7 separate regions of the Homo sapiens genome follow, and regions 1, 3, 4, 5, 6 and 7 are each linked to region 2. The links are contacts of gene promoters, found by promoter capture Hi-C in blood cells and fetal thymus (Javierre and others, 2016). All regions are on one chromosome and are shown on one strand. Each heading gives the region's core, a stretch centred on a gene start or on the middle of the fragment in contact. The rest is flanking DNA. Distances are from core to core; before and after follow the strand shown. Region 1 overlaps NOD2 (nucleotide binding oligomerization domain containing 2). Region 2 holds the start of TENT4B (terminal nucleotidyltransferase 4B). Region 3 overlaps CYLD (CYLD lysine 63 deubiquitinase). Region 4 overlaps CYLD (CYLD lysine 63 deubiquitinase). Region 5 has its middle 9.9 kb from the start of LINC02128. Region 6 has its middle 5.9 kb from the start of LINC02168. Region 7 overlaps CYLD (CYLD lysine 63 deubiquitinase).

Evidence for each region. Contacts are between HindIII fragments. The CHiCAGO score rates a contact against its expected background, and 5 or more counts as called.
Region 1: a contact is called between a fragment that was not itself captured here and the fragment with the promoter of TENT4B in region 2, in 10 of 17 cell types (neutrophils, total CD8 T cells, non-activated CD4 T cells and 7 more). The highest score is 14.3, in neutrophils.
Region 3: a fragment that was not itself captured here is called in contact with the fragment with the promoter of TENT4B in region 2 in 10 of 17 cell types (naive CD4 T cells, total CD4 T cells, total CD8 T cells and 7 more); the score reaches 25.7 in naive CD4 T cells.
Region 4: a contact is called between a fragment that was not itself captured here and the fragment with the promoter of TENT4B in region 2, in 10 of 17 cell types (total CD4 T cells, naive CD4 T cells, total CD8 T cells and 7 more). The highest score is 21.5, in total CD4 T cells.
Region 5: a fragment that was not itself captured here is called in contact with the fragment with the promoter of TENT4B in region 2 in 2 of 17 cell types (non-activated CD4 T cells and naive B cells); the score reaches 7.1 in non-activated CD4 T cells.
Region 6: a fragment that was not itself captured here is called in contact with the fragment with the promoter of TENT4B in region 2 in 10 of 17 cell types (total CD4 T cells, naive CD8 T cells, non-activated CD4 T cells and 7 more); the score reaches 11.6 in total CD4 T cells.
Region 7: a fragment that was not itself captured here is called in contact with the fragment with the promoter of TENT4B in region 2 in 12 of 17 cell types (total CD4 T cells, naive CD4 T cells, naive CD8 T cells and 9 more); the score reaches 30.9 in total CD4 T cells.

The regions. Positions count from the first base shown.
Region 1 is chr16:50,728,023-50,730,722 of GRCh38, reverse strand. It overlaps NOD2 (nucleotide binding oligomerization domain containing 2), which reads right to left. Exons shown (of 12, transcript NM_001370466.1): 11 at 822-905. It overlaps CYLD-AS1 (CYLD antisense RNA 1), which reads left to right. Exons shown (of 7, transcript NR_184279.1): 5 at 770-880; 6 at 1,573-1,710; 7 at 2,273-2,700. Among named protein-coding and RNA genes, the nearest start is that of CYLD, 13 kb to the left of the region's middle. The HindIII fragment of the contact is 3,218 bases long and covers 1-2,700 here.
Region 2 is chr16:50,151,912-50,154,611 of GRCh38, reverse strand. It overlaps TENT4B (terminal nucleotidyltransferase 4B), which reads right to left and starts at 1,306. Exons shown (of 12, transcript NM_001365324.3): 1 at 353-1,306. The coding sequence starts at 990. RefSeq lists silencers at 467-636, 757-806, 987-1,086, 1,317-1,476, 1,587-1,756 and 1 more and an enhancer at 1,293-2,250. The HindIII fragment of the contact is 13,709 bases long and covers 1-2,700 here.
Region 3 is chr16:50,783,165-50,785,864 of GRCh38, reverse strand. CYLD (CYLD lysine 63 deubiquitinase) reads right to left here. Exons shown (of 19, transcript NM_001378743.1): 12 at 1,414-1,536. It overlaps CYLD-AS2 (CYLD antisense RNA 2), which reads left to right. Exons shown (of 3, transcript NR_187251.1): 3 at 1,676-2,006. Among named protein-coding and RNA genes, the nearest start is that of CYLD-AS2, 19 kb to the left of the region's middle. The HindIII fragment of the contact is 3,747 bases long and covers 1-2,700 here.
Region 4 is chr16:50,767,068-50,769,767 of GRCh38, reverse strand. All of the region lies in intron 5 of CYLD (CYLD lysine 63 deubiquitinase), which reads right to left. Among named protein-coding and RNA genes, the nearest start is that of CYLD-AS1, 26 kb to the right of the region's middle. The HindIII fragment of the contact is 252 bases long and covers 1,279-1,530 here.
Region 5 is chr16:50,828,789-50,831,488 of GRCh38, reverse strand. No RefSeq gene overlaps it. Among named protein-coding and RNA genes, the nearest start is that of LINC02128, 9.9 kb to the left of the region's middle. The HindIII fragment of the contact is 1,155 bases long and covers 815-1,969 here.
Region 6 is chr16:50,811,227-50,813,926 of GRCh38, reverse strand. No RefSeq gene overlaps it. Among named protein-coding and RNA genes, the nearest start is that of LINC02168, 5.9 kb to the right of the region's middle. The HindIII fragment of the contact is 5,044 bases long and covers 1-2,700 here.
Region 7 is chr16:50,746,629-50,749,328 of GRCh38, reverse strand. The region is part of intron 2 of CYLD (CYLD lysine 63 deubiquitinase); the gene reads right to left. Among named protein-coding and RNA genes, the nearest start is that of CYLD-AS1, 5.2 kb to the right of the region's middle. The HindIII fragment of the contact is 2,275 bases long and covers 280-2,554 here.

The DNA of each region.
Region 1 (2,700 bases), core at 171-2,670, 580 kb before region 2:
AAGACTCAGCCCTTCTTGTACTCTGGTTAACTACTGGAATCATGAATGGGCATCCAGAGTTCCCAGCTCTTTTGAGAAAACCCTGAGATATAGATTTTCTATAGGAAATTTCCTGGCTTTTAAATATTAGTCTCTAGCCCAGTGCCTGGAACATATATAGTAGCATTCACTTACAGCACATTAGGCCAGGGAAAGCCTTTACTTATTGTCTGAGAAATAGATCCCTGGAAACAAGAAGGACAAATCTTTGAAGCTGTGGCTCAGCAGAGAGAAAGTCTACAACACTGGACCCAGCTGCCCAGACTCCCAAGGCTAGTCATTCTTTTTAAGGCAATGAAAGAATCTGTCAAGAATGCAATTCTTGCTTTTTTCAATACATGAAAGTCTATGGCTTTAATTATAGAGAATTGGAAACACTGTGCAACCTGCTCCTAACCTGTGTAATCTCCATTCAGAACCGCAGAAGGTCTGATCCAATATCCTTGACCTGTGAAGGCAGATGCAATTTCTAGGAGGGCGGGAGCTGACTTTTCTTTTCATTCTTCAACCACATCCCCATTCCTACACTATCTCATAGAGCAGAGAAGTTGCTGAATAAATAGTCAAGGTTTAAAAATGAAATCATTGCTCCCTACTTAAAGAGGTAAAGACTTCTTTCTTAGACAGAGAATCAGATCCTTCACATGCAGAATCATTCTCACTGAATGTCAGAATCAGAAGGGATCCTCAAAATTCTGCCATTCCTCTCTCCCGTCACCCCATTTTACAGATAGAAAAACTGAGGTTCGGAGAGCTAAAACAGGCCTGCCCAGGGGCCTTACCAGACTTCCAGGATGGTGTCATTCCTTTCAAGGGCCTGCAGGAGGGCTTCTGCCCCTAGGTAGGTGATGCAGTTATTGGACAACCTGGAAAAGAAGATACAATGGTGAGCTTCAAGGATTCTTGGTTTTCCTCTTGAAACTGTCCAGTTAAAGAGACTGCAGGAGTTAGCCAGTCTACTGAAGCCCACCTGTCCCTTAGACACATCCTGCTCATGTCTGAGATTCCCAATGAGCTCATCAACAAAGGCTCAGTACCATCAGTGAAATGTAACCGTCTCTCTTCCATTCACTAGATGAGTTTATCAAATTAAGTAGCCACTCCCTTAGGATAGTGGTTAAGTACCTGCATTTTAGTGCTAGACATCCTGGGTTTAAATCCCACCTACACCACTTCTTTTTTGATCTCGAGCAAATTAGTCCCAATCTCCTCATTGGTAAAATGGGCCTAAAAGAGTACCCGTGCCATCGAGCATAAGAATCTAAATTGTGATGGGTGTAAGCAGGCTCCTATTCACATCCACCATCCATCTCCTTGTGGCATGGGTCCTGGGCCATTAAGTCAGCCACCAGTCCCCCATTACCTCCCCACACTCTGCTTGCTGGGAAGACCCACCACTCTCTGCATGCCTAAAACACTTGCACAGTACTTGATATGGTTTGGCTGTGTCCCCACCCAAATCTCTTGAATTCCCACGTGTTGTGGGAGCGACCCAGTGGAAGGTAATTGAATCCCATCCTGTTCTCATTACAGTAAATAAGTTTCATGATATCTGATGGTTTTAAAAAGGGGAGTTTCCCTGAACAAGCCCTCTTCTCCTGTCTGCTGCCATGTGAGATGTGCCTTTCACCTTCAGCCATGATTGTGAGACCTCCCCAGCCACGTGGAACTGTAAGTTCAATAAAACTCTTTCTTTCATAAAGTGCCCAGTCTTGGGTATATCTTTATCATCAGCATGAAAACGGACTAATACAGTACTTAATTGATAGAAAATAACCAATGAGCAGTAATATTTCTATTTTCAGGGGGGTCTTTGAGGGCACAGAGACAGAGATTAGAGAACATATGAGGTAGCTGACAACAGGGAGGGGAGACAGGATAGGGCCAGGGACAGCAACAGAGGAGTCATGTGTTTCCCAGGTTGCTCTTTTGGTTACAGCTTTGCCTTCCAATAATGTCCACTCCAGGTCCTCCCCCTTTCCCACAATTTCAGGAATGTCTTACAAGTTGACCCTAAGGCAATGCCAATTGTAATTGCCAGTATTTATTGAACTTCTATTAGATTGGTGCAAAAGTAATTGCAGTTTTTGCATTGTTGAAATTTGCCATTTGATATTGGAATACATTCTTAAATAAATGTGGTTATGCTATACATCATTTTAATGCACAATTCTCACTTTATGATTTTTTGCTAATGACTTAATACTTTCTGTTTATTTTATATTTATTTTAGACTATGAAAATGATGTTAGACAAAAAGCAAATTCAAGCAATTTTCTTATTTGAATTCAAAATGGGTTGTAAAGCAGCGGAGACAACTCACAACATCAGCAATGCATTTGGCCCAGGAACTGCTAACTAACGTATAGTGCAGTGGTGGTTCAAGAAGTTTTGCGAAGGAGATAAGAGCCTTGAAGATGAGGAGTGTACTGGCAGGCCATCAGAAGCTGACAATGACCAATTGAGAGCAATCATCAAAGCTGATTTTCTTACAACTACTTGAGAACTCAACATCGACCATTCCATGGTCATTCAGCATTTGAAGCAAATTGGAAAGGTGAAAAACCTCGATAAGTGTGTGCCTCATGAGCTGAGTGAAAACCAAGAAAATCGTCATTTTGAAGTGTCATCTTCTCTTATTCTACACAACAACAGCGAACC
Region 2 (2,700 bases), core at 57-2,556:
TGGAGGCGGGGTGGTGGTCAAGGGTAGATGTGTTTAACTAAGGGGGATGGGAGGAGAGTGAATGGATAAAGGGGGGGGCCTGGGGAAGGTGTGGACGGTTAAGAGGGAGGGGAGGAAGGTGTGGACGACTAAGGGAGGACAGGAGACGGAGGGTGTGGACGGCTAAGGAGGCTTGGGGAAAGGTGTGAACGACTGGGGGGTTGGGGATGGCCAGCAGCACCCCCGTGCAACAGCAGCGAAGGCAGGCCGTGGGGGTGGCCGCTCCTAGACCCTCACAACCCCCCTCTGTGGGCGTGTGCCCGGCTGCGCATTCGCACCGGCCAGGCCATCGGGCCGCAGAGCCAGCACTCACCCCACGACTCCCTGGTTGTAGTTCCTCCGTTTCCACGGGGTCCCGCTGTACACGACCCCGCCGCCGTCTGCTCGGCCGCCCCCCGCGGCCCGCCCTCCGCTGGGCTGCAGCAGGCTGTAGTTGAGTCCATACGTGCTGGCCTTGTTGTCGCGCTTCCTCTTGTTGCTGCTGCCCGAGGCCGAATCGGCTGGATCGGCGGCGGGGACGGCGGCCGAAGGGTGCGGGGACGAGGACGCCGAGGGAGGCGAGGACGCCGAGGAGCCCGCCCGGCGGGCCCAGGCCCCGGGCTGGTGGTGGTTGTTGTTGTTGTTGGTCGTCTCTAGGGGCAGGAAGTCCCGCTGCTCCGCGGGCAGCGCGTGGCTGCCCAGCAGGCGCTCCCCGGAGCGATACATGCCGGCCGGGGCCGGGGCCGGGGCCGAGGCCGCGCCGCCGGGGCTGCCGGTGCTGCTGCCGCTCCCGCCGGTGGCCGTGCTGCTGCTGCTGCTGCTGCCGCCGCCGCCGCTCGCGCCGCCGCTGCTGTGACAGTGGTGGTTGAAGTAGAGGTTCCTCAGCCCCTGGGTCGTCTCCCAGATCTGCATCCACAGACTGTTGGACGGTCCGAGCTGCTCTGGCTGAAACCAGGCGATCCTCGGATCCATCAAACGGCGGCGGCCGCTGCCCCCGCCCCTCCCGGCCGCCCGCAGGGCCGCCGCCGCCGCCGCCTCAGGCGCACGCCCGGCCTCGGCTGCTGCTGCTGCTGCCGCTGCTGCCGCTGCTGCTGCTGCTGCTGCTCGGGGCCCGCCGCGGGCGGCGCGGTCGCGCAGGGAGCCCGGCCGGCGCCGGCGGCGTCGCTCCCGCCCTCGGGGGCTCCGCGGGCCCTCCCCCCCTCCCTCCGCCCCTCCGCCCCTCCGCCGAGCCCCTGTCACTGGGGTCCCCGTGCAAATGGCGGCGGCGGCGGCGGCGGCTCCACAGAAGAGCGAGCGGCGGCGGCGGCAGCGGCGGCAGCGAGACGCGCCTGCTCCGTAGCGTCCTCGCTCCTCCGGCCCCGGGGCGGGGCCTCTGCCGGCTCCGCCCCTCTCGCTCCGCCCCCCCCCCCCACCGCCCCGCCCTCACGCGCTCGCCCCGCCCCCGCTGCGCCGCGCAGCAGCCCGGGAGGCCTCGCCGTGCGTCACAGAGGCCGCGGCGCGACGGGGCCGCAACCGCCTGGCCCAACCGTACTTGCGCCATCTGTGGAGTGCTCCCACGTACCTGGGCGTCCGGGAGCTTCTGAGGCGCGCGCGGCTTCTCCGCCTCGGCTTCCCCGGTGCTGAGCGTGGACGAGGCCGCATGGAGGTTGCCGCCCGCCCCGCAGGGAGCGCGTTGTGGGAGGTGCCACTCCGCCCCTCGCTCCTCGCCCCTCCCATCCCTGTGGCCGCCGGATCCCGGGCCCTCGCAACCCTTCCTGACGTCTTGGCTTCTGCCTGCTTTCTAAAACACTTTCTTTTTAAAAAAAAAAAAAAAAAAAAAAACAGCCTATAACACTTTTTCTGGTGGCGTGGGGACACGCCCCCTGCCCGAGCGTGTGCCCCGGGGTCCTGACGCGGGCTGCGCGAGACCCTGCACGGCTACGTGTGCCCCGCCCTGCTGCGCCCTGGCCGGGGTGGGGGACCCCTCACCCCGGCCTGAGGCCACAGAAACCTGTACCCCATGCATAGCCCTGGGGGAGACCACTAAGACTGAGAGTGTGAGCCAAGGGCGGAAAGCCGCAGCCGCACACTCAACCCACTTTACAGGGACACGCAAACACGTGTAGATGCACAGAGAAGCAGACACACTCCTGCGCGGCGTAGCAAAGACGCTCTCCTGCCCTAAGGTGCACCAACAGCCTTAGAAAGCTCTTCTGAGTTCAGCATTAAATTTTAAGAAAACCCAAAACCTTTTAATCCTAAAATGAAGATTTAGCATCAGCAAAGATTGTCCACTAGGTCGTTATTTGCATGTCTTTCAAATCTCAGTGGTTAAAAAGCCAAGGAAAGGGGAATGTTAAGTATTTTAAATCAAGAGACTAAAAGAAAGTAAGTGAACAGCTTCTATGTGGGCCCTTTAAGGTTGGTCCAACGTCCAGAACAAGTCCCTGATGCCTGATATTGGCCTTCCATTTTGGGAGCTCAATATCCTGGAAAGTTTTTATGACAAATAGTGGAAAACTATCAAAGAACTAAGTGTCGCTCTACCTTTTTCTTTCTTTCGAGACTAACTCTTGCTCTGTCATCTGGAGTTCAGTGACTCATTCACAGCTCACTGCAGGCTCGGCCTCTTGGGTTCAAGCGATCCTCTTGCCCCAGCCTCCGAGTAGCTAGGACTATAGGCACGCGTCAACATGGCATAGA
Region 3 (2,700 bases), core at 91-2,590, 630 kb before region 2:
CTGTCAGCCACTGGGAATACAAAATGAGTAAGGTTAAAAAGACAGGGTCTCTGAAGAAAAGCAGAGATTTCAGCACCAAATAAAACCAGTCAGCTATATACAGATATGAATGCTACAGACACAGGGAATCCTGATCACAACAGGGCATCTGACCAGTTTCTTACCGTGGACAGGGTAAGAAAGTGTGATTAACTATGATTCTTAACTGGCTGAACAATAGGATCCAAAGAATGTTTATTCTTCCTCTCTTCTAGGAAGGAGGTGTTAACATGCCTTAGAGTTTCGGGTTTGACCTGTCTTGTTCCAGTATCAATTACTTGGGGGAAAAAAATCGTATGTTTAAAAATTTGCATAAGACAAAATAGTTGATGTGAAAATCAAGATTCACAATTATCTTAAAGAGTAAGATCATTAGAGAAATCATTACAGAATTTAAAGAAAGCAAAAGATATAAGTGAGGAAATTTATTCTCTTATAATTTACTTTCCTAGTCATGTGATATAGCAGATAATTTGGAATCCTCATTGTATTTGAGTATTCTGCTTTTTTGGTTCAAATTTGATATCAAACTATTTTTTACTTTAATTGATAAATAAGAACAGTATATAAAAGGATTCAAATTTATCTTAATATGGACTTTAAATAAATCACTTTCTCTCTATATTCCTGAATGAACAAATTTGTTTTATGATCTATGGTCCTAATTCTTCATAGTTTAAATTTTATAATGTGACATTATCACATATCACTACTACCACTTATTCAAAGTCTTTACTAGATATCTCCTGTCACTTGTGCTTGTACCATTACAAATTGCTTCCTGTGGCCATAAAAAGACATATTTATAATTCCTAAAGTAGGAAATGGAAAAAGAATCACCTTTTTAAGGCAGGTGGAAAGAGGCCAAATATATTCCTTTAACCAAAAAATATGGTACTAAAATACATCTCATCTGTTGCTAGTCCAAAGTATTAAACACTAGCTATTCTATAAAGAATTTCCCTTTCTCCTTTTCTTTCAGATTTAAGAAGCTAGACTACACCAATTTAACTAATAAGCATGATTACTTGTAGCAGAAGTGTTGGAATAAACTATTTCAAAAGATAAGAATCCTAAGTATTATGTATTAGCTTTCCTAAACATACTGCAATTGCTAAATTATAGTTTACTCTAGCAAAATAGGTTAAATCATTTCATGGAATATGCTATGTTCTACACCTTGGCCACATTTAAGAAATTAAATAAGCAAAAAAGTACAAGGACCAAAGGTTTAAAAACGTAATATTTTACCATAAGAACTAATTTTCACCCATCTCTTATTACATGAAGACAAGGTATAAATTAATTACTATACCAGAAAACAGCAAATAGAACACCATGTAAAGGCAAAATAGCAATTTGTTTTCTACTTACATTCTCAGAGGATTAACAATTTCTGTCCTCAGTAGCTCTTGGGTTTCACTATAATATTCTACATCGTTCTTTTCTTTGGGTCTAAGTAACACAGTGTCCAGAACAGAACTAAAAGCAAATAAGCTGCAAAAGAAAAAGGATAATTTTCTTCATGCTGTAAACATATTTTTCAAGAAACAGATTTTTAACAGAATTAGAAGAGGAAAATAAGTAAAGTCTGGAGAACAAATAACATAACAATTTGTGTTTTTCATTAACACAGGTACCAGGACCCCTGTGAAGATACCCATGGTTCAATCATCAGGACCTACAGATCCTTCCATGTTAAGGACAACACCAATAATACTGAGAAAGCAAACGGCAGATTGGCAGTGTTAAAGGATAACAACGTGCCAACAGAATATTAAGAAAGAAAACTTCTTTGCAAAAGTTGATAGAGAGACTACAAATATCAGTCAAATTACAAACAGACAACAGAGGACAGCATTTGGAAACGACTTCCCGAGGCAAGCACTATTCAGTGCCCCACTTCCCTCTCCCCATGCCCCTTTGCAAAGATCTATTACATTAATAAATTTCTTTAAATGCTAAAATCACTTATGAGTGACTAACAGGCCAGGTGCGGTGGCTCATGCCTGCAATCCCAGAACTTTGGGAGGCCGAGACGGGTGAATCACCTGAGGTCAGGAGTTTGAGACCAGCCTGACCAATATGGTGAAACCCCGTCTCTACTAAAAATACAAAAATTAGCCAGGCATGATGGAGTGCACCTGAAGTCCCAGCTACTTGGGAGGCTGAGATAGGAGAATCGCTTGAACCCGGGAGGTGGAGGTTCCAGTGAGCCGAGATCACGTCACTGCATTCCAGCCTGGGCGACACAGCGAGACTCCTTCTCAAAAAAATAAACGAGTGACAGCAGTAACTTGCTGTTATCAAAGAAAAAGAAAATTTAGCTAATATAGATTTTTATCAGGAAATCTAAAGAATATTATATCAATGCTACAAGGTTTGTTTTTGTCAAAGTATTCTGCAAATAAAATGGCCGCCACTTTATTCTTCTTCCTACTTTAAAAATGTTAACATCCCATATTAACTTCCTAATTCTTATCATATGGCTACAGAACTGGCAGGCTACTCTCAATTTAGCCCAGTCTACAATCCTCAGAGCCTAAAGATTCTTGGTTCAATTTCCAGAGCTTAAAGATCCTTGCAATGTTAAGGCTGGGCGTGGTGGCTCATGCCCGTAATCCCAAGCACTTTGGGAGGCCAAGGCGGGTAGATCATTTG
Region 4 (2,700 bases), core at 155-2,654, 620 kb before region 2:
AAGAGATCTTTGTGGGATGGGAATGTTCTGCTTCTTGATTGTATCAGGGTCAACATTCTGGTTGTGATGTTGCACACGTCTTGTTTTACAACATGTTAATGTTACCGCTGGGAAAAATTGGCTAAAGGGCACACAGGGTCCCTCTCTCTGCATGTGAATCTATAATAATCTGAAATGCTGTAAAGCATATATCTGCAAAAGGGTTTGTATTCAAAATTTATAAATAACTCTCAAAACCCAATCATAAAGAAACAATTAATAATCGGCCAAAGACTTTCACAGATACTAAACCAAAGAAGATATACAGATGACAAATATGCACATGGAAAGATGTTTGATATCACTGGTCACCAATGAAGCGCAGAGTAAAACCACAATTAGATGTTACTAAAATTTAAAAAACTGATCATACCAAGTGTTGGCAAAGATATGGAAGAACTGTATCTCTCATATACTGCTTCTGGGAATGTAAAATAATGCAACCACTTTGGAAACACAGCTTGGAAGGTTTGGGGGTTTTATTTAAGTTAACAGTCACCTATGATATTACCAGCCATTCCACATCTAGGTAAGTACCCAAGTGAAATGAAGGCATATGTCCATACAAAGATTCGTACACAAATTTTCATAGCAGCATTATTCATAATAGCCAAAAACTGAAAAAAACTCAAGTGTCCATCAACAAGTGAATGGATATAGAAACTAATATAACCATATCAACAATAAAAAGGACAACATGGATGAATAAAAAATAATTATGTCGAGTGAAATAAGCCAGACAAAAAAGAATGCATTCTGAGTTATTCCACTTTTGTAAAATCCTTAAAAATGTGAACAAGTGTATACTGATGTAAAGAAGACCAGTGGTTGTCTGAATGTAGGGGGTTGAGAGGACAGGAAGAGGCAGAGGGAGGGATCCCAAGGGACATATTTTGGGGTGATGGATATGTTCACTATCTTGATCGTAGAGATCGTCAAAAAAACAGCATTATACTCCCAACCCCCACAACTAGAACAGAAGACACAGGTTGAACTAGAAAAACCGAAATGTATAATTTTGGGGTGGTGCTAATTGATATGCTTCATCATAACAACTTCAAGAACATGAACATAATGTCAAATTAGATATGTTAGCAGTGTTTTTAACCATTTAGAACAGAAATATAAGAGAGAAACAATTTTATAACAGGTTTAAGATTCCTGCATCTTTCAATCAAAGGTATCCTTCAGAAGCCAACTATTACAAGCAATTGACTAGAAAGAATTCTTTCCTAAGCTTCCCAGCCATTCAACTGCTCTGAAAAGAATCTTTTTTCTTTTTTAAATGCTGTAAATATTAATTTTGTTTCACGGATGAAGGTAATTGGGCAAGAAAAAGAAACTAAGGAACTAAAGGAGACACTTTGACTTTTTTTTCCCCTCAAGAAAAGAGTCCTAATGATGACATGAAAGGCAGATGAAGACTCATTTAAGTAAACTAAATTAATTTTCATTTAAACAACTTTAGTTTTTAAAGTCTATTTGCAAGCTTTATTTTGTTGACAAATAAGTGTAATTTATGTATTATGTTATAAATGCTGGTATCATTCTTAATTATCTCCTATTGAGGGTTTATGAAAATCAAGCTTTAAAAGAAAAAAAAATATCATTCTTTTTCTTTCTCTTCACTGCTCTGAGCCAGCAATAATGACAATGATAACTACTGATTTAGAAGATCAAAGTGTGCCTGACAAGTGACGCCCAAGATATTCATGTAACTAATTTTAATTATCTCAATCCTCCACCAATATTTTAATAAAACAAAACCGTAAATGTTTTTAAGATAAATACTACTAATGAAGAATTCCTTGTCAGGTTATATTCCAGGAAAAATAGAAAGGGTGGTTTTTTTCTTTGCTTTGCTTTTTAAGTGCTACTGTAGAACCCAAGATAATTTACATTTCAAACCAAATTGAGATGTGGAAAAAATAGACAGAAGGAAATACAGCTCTAGAGTGTGTGTGTGGGAGAAAGCACTTCAAGTATTTATTCTACAGCCAACTGAGAAAAACAATCAATTATACATAAGCCAACTTCATAGTTCAGGTATCTCAATCTTAAATTATAATACTAAACTAATGATTTCCCTAGTCTCCTAACTTATTCAGTATAATGAATTGCATTCAGTTGTAAAATGTAAAATTCAAAGAAATGCAATTAAGGTAGGTAAAGAGAACGGTTACTTTCAATCTAAAATGCTTTTTTTTTTAATTATTTTTTGAGCTTTCAAAAGTACTCTATGGAAATTAAAAAAAAAAAAAATTGAAACCCACAAACCCACACAGGCACACCCTGGAGATATTGTAGGTTCTGTTCCAGACCACCACAATAAAGCAAATATCACAATAAAGCAAGTCACACAAGTGTTTTTGTTTCCCAGTGCATATGAAAGCTATGTTTACACTATACTGTAGTCCATTACGTGTGCAATACCATTATGTTATTGAAAATAATGTATATACCTTAATTTTAAAAATATTTCATTGCTAAAAAATGTTAATGATTATCTGAGCCTTCAAGGAGTCATAGTCTTTTTGCTGGTGGAGGCTCTTGCCTCAGTGTGGATGGGTGCTGACTGATCACGGTGATGGTTGCTGAAAGTTGGAGTGACCGTGGCAATTTCCTAAAATAAGACAACAATGAAGTTGGCTCTTTCTTTCA
Region 5 (2,700 bases), core at 143-2,642, 680 kb before region 2:
TGAGAGGTATGGGAAAAAGAGTTCTTATAAAGACTGTAGAATTGGGTGCCCACCAGTGAATGCCAATCATGCCTTAAGAAGAGGAAAAGACAGACTCAGGGCCATCAATCACAATGTGAAGCAAAACATGAGGGTCTGAGAGCCCCATTGCCAGCATTATAGAAACTCTCATCTCCCACAGCTGGGGAGGCAGACAGCTGGCTCCCAGGCCCTGGCCTTAAGGATATGAGGAAAGGACTTAAGGATAAGAGTTGCAACTTTAAGGAAATTTAAATTCTAATTCTAAGCCTAGGCAAGTTTTCTACACCAAAGTCAGACCTCTGATGGAGAAGCTGCAGGAATCTGGAACTTGGGGTAAGTGCATTTGAGTACATGTACTTGAGAACTTTGGGTCCTCTGGGTCTGCAGAAGCGGCCTGTCCACCCTGTTAGGAGACTATCCAAGAAGCCCCAAATGAGGATTTTTATAAAGCAGCACTGGCCTCCTCCGTATCTGCTGTCACCTCCTCTCCCCGCCACCAGTCTAATCTGTAGGGCCAAGTCTCAGCATGAGTCAACTGTGTGAGGCCTGCTTAGGAATGGGAAAGTTTCTAAGTAAAAGACTCTGCAGGTACTAGTGGACATGCCCTGGCAGGACTGGGAGGGCATGCCCAGGAGTGGATCCTGAGGATGCTGGGTCAAGGTGGACAGAATTTATCACTGAATAAAGGAACATTTGTTGACAAGGGAGCCCTCTCCTTTGCCATGGAATTTAACACCCCGGCGAGGCTTCCAGGGATGGGTCTAATACATAGCTGGGATGGCTCTTAGAAGCTTGGAAAAAGCTCACATTGGCCCTCATTAAATGAAGCTGAGATGCCAGAGCTCTCACTGCAGATGATGGACGAAAGGATCAACGAAGTGGTGGCTGAATTGCAGTTCCTATGCCAAAGGAGGTCTGTTTACTACAGCAGACTAACACAACCTCAGCTATGTGGTTTGCAATTTATTTCTGATCTGCCAAACGTGTTCTTTCCAATACTGTTGTTTGTTTCCTGGGACTGCCATAACAAATTACCACAAACTTAATGACTTAAAACAACAGAAATTTATTCTCTCACAGTTCTAGAGGCCAGTGGTCTGAAGTCAAGGGGTCAGTAGGCTGCCTCTGGAGGCTCTAGGGAAGAGTCCTTCCTCTCCTGGTGGCTGCCGGCTGTCTTTGGCATTTCTTGGCTTGTAGACACATCACTCCAATCTCTGTCCTCTCCTGTATGTATTCCTCTCTCTTCTCTTATAAGGAAATTTATCATTGGATTTAGGGCCTACCCTAATCCAAGATGATCGTATCTTGAGATCCTTTATTTAATTATATCTGCCAAGACCTTTATTCCAAATAAGTCCACAGTTCTAGGTTCCAGGTGGGCATATCTTTTCTTTGGTGGGGTGGGGGCAGGTGCATCATTTAACCCACTACACGTGCCCATCACAAATGAGGATCAGAAGCTGTTTGCATCTACATCCAATGGATAATAGCATATATTGATAATCCTGCCCTGGAATATGGTAATTCTGATTTCTGCCATAATGTAGTCCATAATGTGACCTAGGCAATCTGGACACTTCACAAAGAAACTGAAATTACTTCCCTGTATCAATTTCAGCAGTGAGCTGAAATTACTTCCCTGTATGATACGTTAATTGGATCAGATGAGCAAGAAGAGACAAGTCATCGGGATGCCTGGGTAAGATACATGCTGTCCAAAGGATGGGAAGTAAGAAATCCCAGGTATGTATCAGCAAAGTTTCTAGGGGCCAGTGGTCTGCAGCAGTGGAGCATCCCTGTATTAGGTGATTCTTGTATTGCTGTAAAGAAATAGCTGAACCTGAGTAATTTACAAAGAAAAGAGGTATGATTGGCTCATGGTTCTGCAGGCTTTACAGGAAGCATGGTGCTAACATCTGCTCAGCTTCTGCGGAGGCCTCAGGAAGCTTACAATCATGGCAGAAGCAGAAGGGGAAGCAAGCATGTCACATGGCCAGAGCAGGGAGGAAGAGAGAGAGAGAGAGAGAGAAGGTGCCACAGACTTTTAAACAATCATATCTCGAGAGAATTCACTCACTGTCATGAGGACAGCACCAAGGGGATAGTGCTAAACCACTCATGAGAAATACGCCCCCACAATCCAGTCACTTCCCACCAGGCCCCACCTCCAACATTAGAGATTACAATTTGACATGAGATTTGGGTGGGCACATGCATGCAAATAATATCAATCCCCTCCAAAATAAAGTAAAGTTATTGTACTGTGCAATTCCTACCACTAAGGAAAAATCCCCAGTGCTTGGTAGACCAGTCCGAATTGAAGGACGCATACTCCAACACTGGGGGATACTGCTCTTGCCCATTCAATGACTTGTAAGGAAACATGCTAGTCTTAAGTGAGGCTCAAAGCAAGAGAGGGCTCTGCAGCAGGTCCAGGCTATGCTACAAGTTCTGTAGCTTGGACCATGTGACTCCATAGACCCCATGGTACTGGCATTAGAAAAGTAGTAAGATCTCGAATTAATAACTTCAGCCTCCACCTTAGGGAACTAGAAAAATGTGGCTCACGCCTGTAGTCCCAACACTTTGGGAGGCTGAGATGGGTGGATCACGAGGTCAGGAGTTTGAGACCAGCCTGGCCAATGTGGTGAAACCCGTCTCTACTAAAAATACAAAAAT
Region 6 (2,700 bases), core at 41-2,540, 660 kb before region 2:
CTTATTCAAGATGGAGCTGCTCTGGCTTAAACGCGTCTGGCACATACAGAGTTAAAAAAAAGAAAAGTTGCCAGATTTGTACAGATCAGGAACTTTTGCTTCTCTTAGAAATTTCTGACTTCGTCTGAAAAATCAGAACATAGGCCAGGTGCGGTGGCTTACGCCTGTAATCCCAGCACTTTGGGAGGCCGAGGCGGGTGGATCACGAGGTCGGGAGTTCAAGACAAGCCTGGCTAAGATGGCGAAACCCTGTCTCTATTAAAAATACAAAAAAATTAGCCAGGCATGGTGGCACTCACTGCTACGCAGGAGGCTGAGGCAGAGAACTGCTTGACCCCGGGAGGTGGAGGTTGCAGTGAGCTGAGATCGCACCACTGCACTCCAGCCTGGGCAGCAGAGCGAGACTCCGTCTCAAAAAAAAAAAAAAAAATCAGAATATACTGGCCTGCTTCTTCCTTTCCTTTACCATATCAGCTCTCCACCAACACTCCAACCTTCTCCCTTCCCTAAGGTACCTGCCTGGCCCCTGTAGGCAAGTGAGCTTGAGAGTCCCAGTCTAGGATCCTTCATTTTACAGATAGAGGGACTGCGGTTCATAGACAGACATCTTGCCAAGGATCATGGAGTGACCAGAGTCCAGTAGCTTGGGTATGACTGGTTTCACAGAGCACCCAGCTCGAACTGGTGGCCCCCAGCGAGGTGGATCGGCCCCTGAGTGGGCACTGTCCCTGCCTGGCTCTAGCCAAGGCCTGGAGGGAAGAGACTGCCCATAGTGAACCAAAGCTCAAGGCTCAAGGGCTCCTAGACAGTGGGGATGAAAATGAGCCAACACCATGCACTGGACGTTTGCCATTGAAAGCAACAGGCTGAACTGGGTAATTCTAGATGATCCAGATGTGGGTGAAGGAAATTCTTCTGTGGCATGCCAAGGAGAAAGGGACTGGAAAAGTCTTCCCGCCCAAAATAGCATGGTGCAAAAAGCACCCAGCTTGGAAATGCCCATGTGAAATGGCCGGTGGCCGCGCAGCTTCCTGAGAATCATTCAGTCTCCCGACAAATATGGGAGGAGGCCACAGTTGGTGCCCCCTGTTCTGGTTGCTGATGAGACAGGGACAATGTGGTTTTCACCCTCTGGGGGACCCACTGCCGAGCTGACAGATGAGTATAAAGCATTGCGCAAATGCAAGGACTCCTGGAGGGGGTGTGGGGACCGTGGGCACCTCGGGCTCACGTAGAAGGAGCTGAGACTTCGTCTCTACTCAGGCAAGTGCCTGGGAATATGGCTTTTGTATAGGGACAGGCTTGACTTCCTCCTGAGTGTGTCCACCTGAGGCAGGAGGTGGCAGGTTGGTGAGGAGGGAGAGGTGGGGATGGTGCAGGCCTAAGGCCTGGAAGAGCACTGGGGAGCCGCTGAGGGACAGGGTGGAATCAGGAGCTAGAGCCCTCTTGGCTGCAGAGTGTACGGCTGAGGCCACCAGCCCTGCCAGACTGTGGAATCCTCACAGTTCAGGAAGCCCAAGGAAGATTGGTGTTTGAGTCACTTAAGGAAGGCCTGGTGTGCATGGCAGGAAGAGGCTCCTCTCCACCCAGGAAAGCCTGCAGAGCTCGGACCAAGCGCCAGCCCCAGGCGCTGGGCCTCCCTAGTCAGAGCCTCGAGCTGCCCTACAATGTCCCAGGGTGAAATGGCCCCCCGTGAACACGGACTTCCCATGCTGGGGTTCTGTTCCAGCTCTGCCTCTAACTCTGCCCGTGGGTGCAGCCCTGCCTCCCTAGGCAGCAGCCTTTAAAGTTGGAGAACTTTAGAAAATTCTCCAACTTTAAAAAGAAAGATTGAGCTGGGACTGGGAGGCTGAGATGGGAGGGTTGCTTGAGCCCAGGTTTTCCAGCCTGGGCAACATAGTGAGACAGACCCTCTTGCTAATGAATTAAAGAAAGAAAAAGAGAGAGAGAGAAAGAGAGGGAGAAGGGGTGGACCCATCTCAATGGCTCCAGTGACTGAGGTCCTTGATGCTAATGGTAGTCCAGACTAGCTTTCTACTTTCTACACTGCTTTCTGGGCTGACTTTCAGTCTTTTTCTCGACCCTGTGCTGAGCCTGGGTTTTATCAAAAAAAGGAGAAAACACACAGGCACATGCACCTTGAGCTGGAGGTGACTACTCCAAGTCACTGAACTTCAACACTACAGAAAGTTTGTCAGATCCCAGAGTGGTGGCTCATGCCTGTAATAGAGCTTCCGGATGCCCAGGCAGGAGGATCACTTGAGGTCAGGAATTCAAGACCAGCCTGGGCAACATAACAAGATCACCTTCTCTACGAAAAATTTTTAAAATTGGCTGGGCATGGTGGTGCATGCCTGTAGTCCCAGATACTTGGGAGGCTGAGGCAGGAGGATCGCTTGAGCCCAGGAGTTCGAGACTAGCTTGGGCAACATAGTGAGATCCTGGTCTCATAAAAAATAAATTCATGAATGTGTCAAAACTCATCTAACTGCTTACTTAAAATATGTGTATGTTACTGTATGTAAATTACACCTCAGTGGAGTTGGTTAAAAAATAATAATGAAAGAAGGAAGGAGTGTAAACTTTGGAAAAGTCTGCAGCTGTCTCTCCTAAAGCTAAAATCCACCAATTCAAGAAGGATCACAGTAGGGTCATGTGTAGTAGCCCCAAACTGTCAGCAATGCCCCTTTCCATCAGTAT
Region 7 (2,700 bases), core at 168-2,667, 590 kb before region 2:
AAGACAACACAATGTTTGCTTCCAAGACACTGAAATTTATAAAATCAGATTCTAGTAAAAACTTTTAAAGATTACCCTTATATACATATTCTAACTTTTTTTAATTTATTTTTATTTATTTGTTTTGAGACAGGGTCTCACTCTTGTTGCCCATGCTGGACTGCAGTGGCACAATCACAGTTCACTGTGGCCAAGACCTTCCAGGCTCAAGTGATCCTCCTACCTCAGCCTCCCGAGTAACTGGTATTATAGACGCATATCACCACACACAGCTAAGCTTTCTATTTTTTGTAGAGACAGGGTCTCACTATGTTGCCTAAGCTGGTCTTGAACTCCTGGGCTCAAACAATCCTCCTGTCTTGGCCTCCCAACGCACTGGGATTACAGTCGTAAGCCACCAGGCCTGTCCCATATTCTGACACTAATAAACTTTTAAAAGTAGCGTTTCGGGCTGAGCTGTGTGGCTCATGCCTATAAATGATAGCTATGATATGGCCATATTGTGATAATGGAACATTTTACCTCTGACTCAACTTCATTTCATATATTTTTTCTGAAGATGGGCAATGTTCATCACATTAATCATAGTTATCTGATTTCTCAAATCGCAAATATCAGATATTATAATATGACTATATTAAAAATATTTTAAAAATCAATTTTGTAGCATCAAAACTTGTACTACATAGCAAGGGAATATCATGATATAACTGCATTATAATTTCTTTCTATTATTTCTTTTTCAAATTTTCATTTATTTTTATTTTATTTATTTATTTTTAAGACAGGGTCTCGCTCTGTCACCCAGGCTTGGGTACATTGGTGCGATCATAGCTCACTGCAGTTTCAAACTCCTGGACTCAAATGATCCTCCCACCTTGGCCTTCCAAGGTTCTAGGATTACAGGCATGAGCAACTGCACCTGGTCCTCATTTAAAATTTTTACAAGAATAATAATCTTTCCAATGAAGTAGGCTCATTCTCAAACCTATTTTAACTGATGGTTAAAAAACTACACAATTTCATTAATTTAAACTGAGACTTTACTTCATTATTTTAATTAATTTTCTGCTGAAAACAATACTTCCTAGGTATCCCTGTCATAAGAATGTGGCTATCTGGTTTCCAAAGACAGTACTTTCATTTCATCCTTCCTTGAGATAGAGGTATCCATTTCCATTATTCTGGGTAATGGCTGCAATTGATAGCACTATCATATTTATTTTATTCTAGCAATTAAAAAATAAATACTCCTAAAGAACCAAATTTTAGATTTAATCACTTAATGATCAAACAACCTGGCAAATCTATACACAGTGGAACACTTCTTTTAGAAAGCACTGCTAGATAATGAAGTATTCCATAATGGTAACGTTCCTAAAAGTCTCTCCCTCTACAAGCCAGCATGAGACATGTGGTTTAGCCAAGACAGGATACAGGTTAGGCACCTCCTTCAAACCAACATGACTGAAATATCTGTGTAACACTCAGTGAGGGTAAAAGCAGAGGTAGCATGAAGTGGTTCTCTTTTCTTCTTTTTTGTGGTGTGTTTGTTTTAATTCCACTTGAGGGCACTGTCTACTTCAGCAAGAATGGGATCAATTTATATTTGCCACTTATATAAGACACCTGTGGAAACCTCTATCTTGACACAATATAAACAAAACTCCTTATAAGGGCTGCCCAAACAGCTATCCAACCCCTCAATTTGGTTGGATTCCTTTAAAGGACCAAACTGAAGTGTTGGTTCTTTTTGACCAAAATGCTTTTAACATGTCAACACTTTCCACAAGAAAATGTCCTTATTTTTTTCTTGATCATTGATGTATCATTATGACTGTAAATTATTTTGCATAACTCTTGATCTGCAAGGCTGTTATTTTGTTAAAAGGCTGTATCTTATGCTTCCTGAGGTCGCGAATGCTTTCTACAGATCTACTGTCTAGAGTTTTCCCTTGCAATCAGCCATTTTCTGTGGTTTCCTGCTGTATGCATTTGACTCCTTTTACGGCCTTGTTGCTTTCCAACTTATCGCTTCGAATCAGTTCTGAGAAGCCAGGTAGTGAAATATGTTTGTGTGTTTGAAAACACAAAGCAACAATCGTGAAAAGAGGAATGCATACATTCTGAAAGGGTCTTTAGGAGCAAAGGGCACATAGGCTTTATTGAATAGAGAGTCTGGTCACTAGCAGAAGGTTAAGACAGTCAAAAAGCAACTTTCAAAAAAACGAGCTGTTGTTTTGGTTCTCTTTAAAATGTATTTAGATTTTTAGGGCCAAAATTTTTTTGAAAAAGGTAAAGTAATTCTATTTTGAAAAGAAATTCTTTTTTAAAATTCCTAAGAACAATGTCTTCAAATATTACAATCAGAAACTTCCCTGAATCTTAATAATTGCTTTATACCAACAGCTCCTACTCTATTGGTCCTGTAGCTTAACTATTCATGTCACAATTTAAAATAAAAATCATTAATGCTAATAATCTATTATTAAGACAAAACTAAATTACTATATGTGCATTAGGACATTATGTTAAATAAATTTGATTATAAGCTTGCTTTCTGAAATAATTTAAGGAAGAGAATCCACAGTAAAAATTGATATAACTGCTAGGTTTATAAAAATGTTTTAGGGTAATAAACTATAGCTTTCAAGTACCATATTTTAAAGTGAACTCTACAAGGAGTGGTAACTTTTTTCC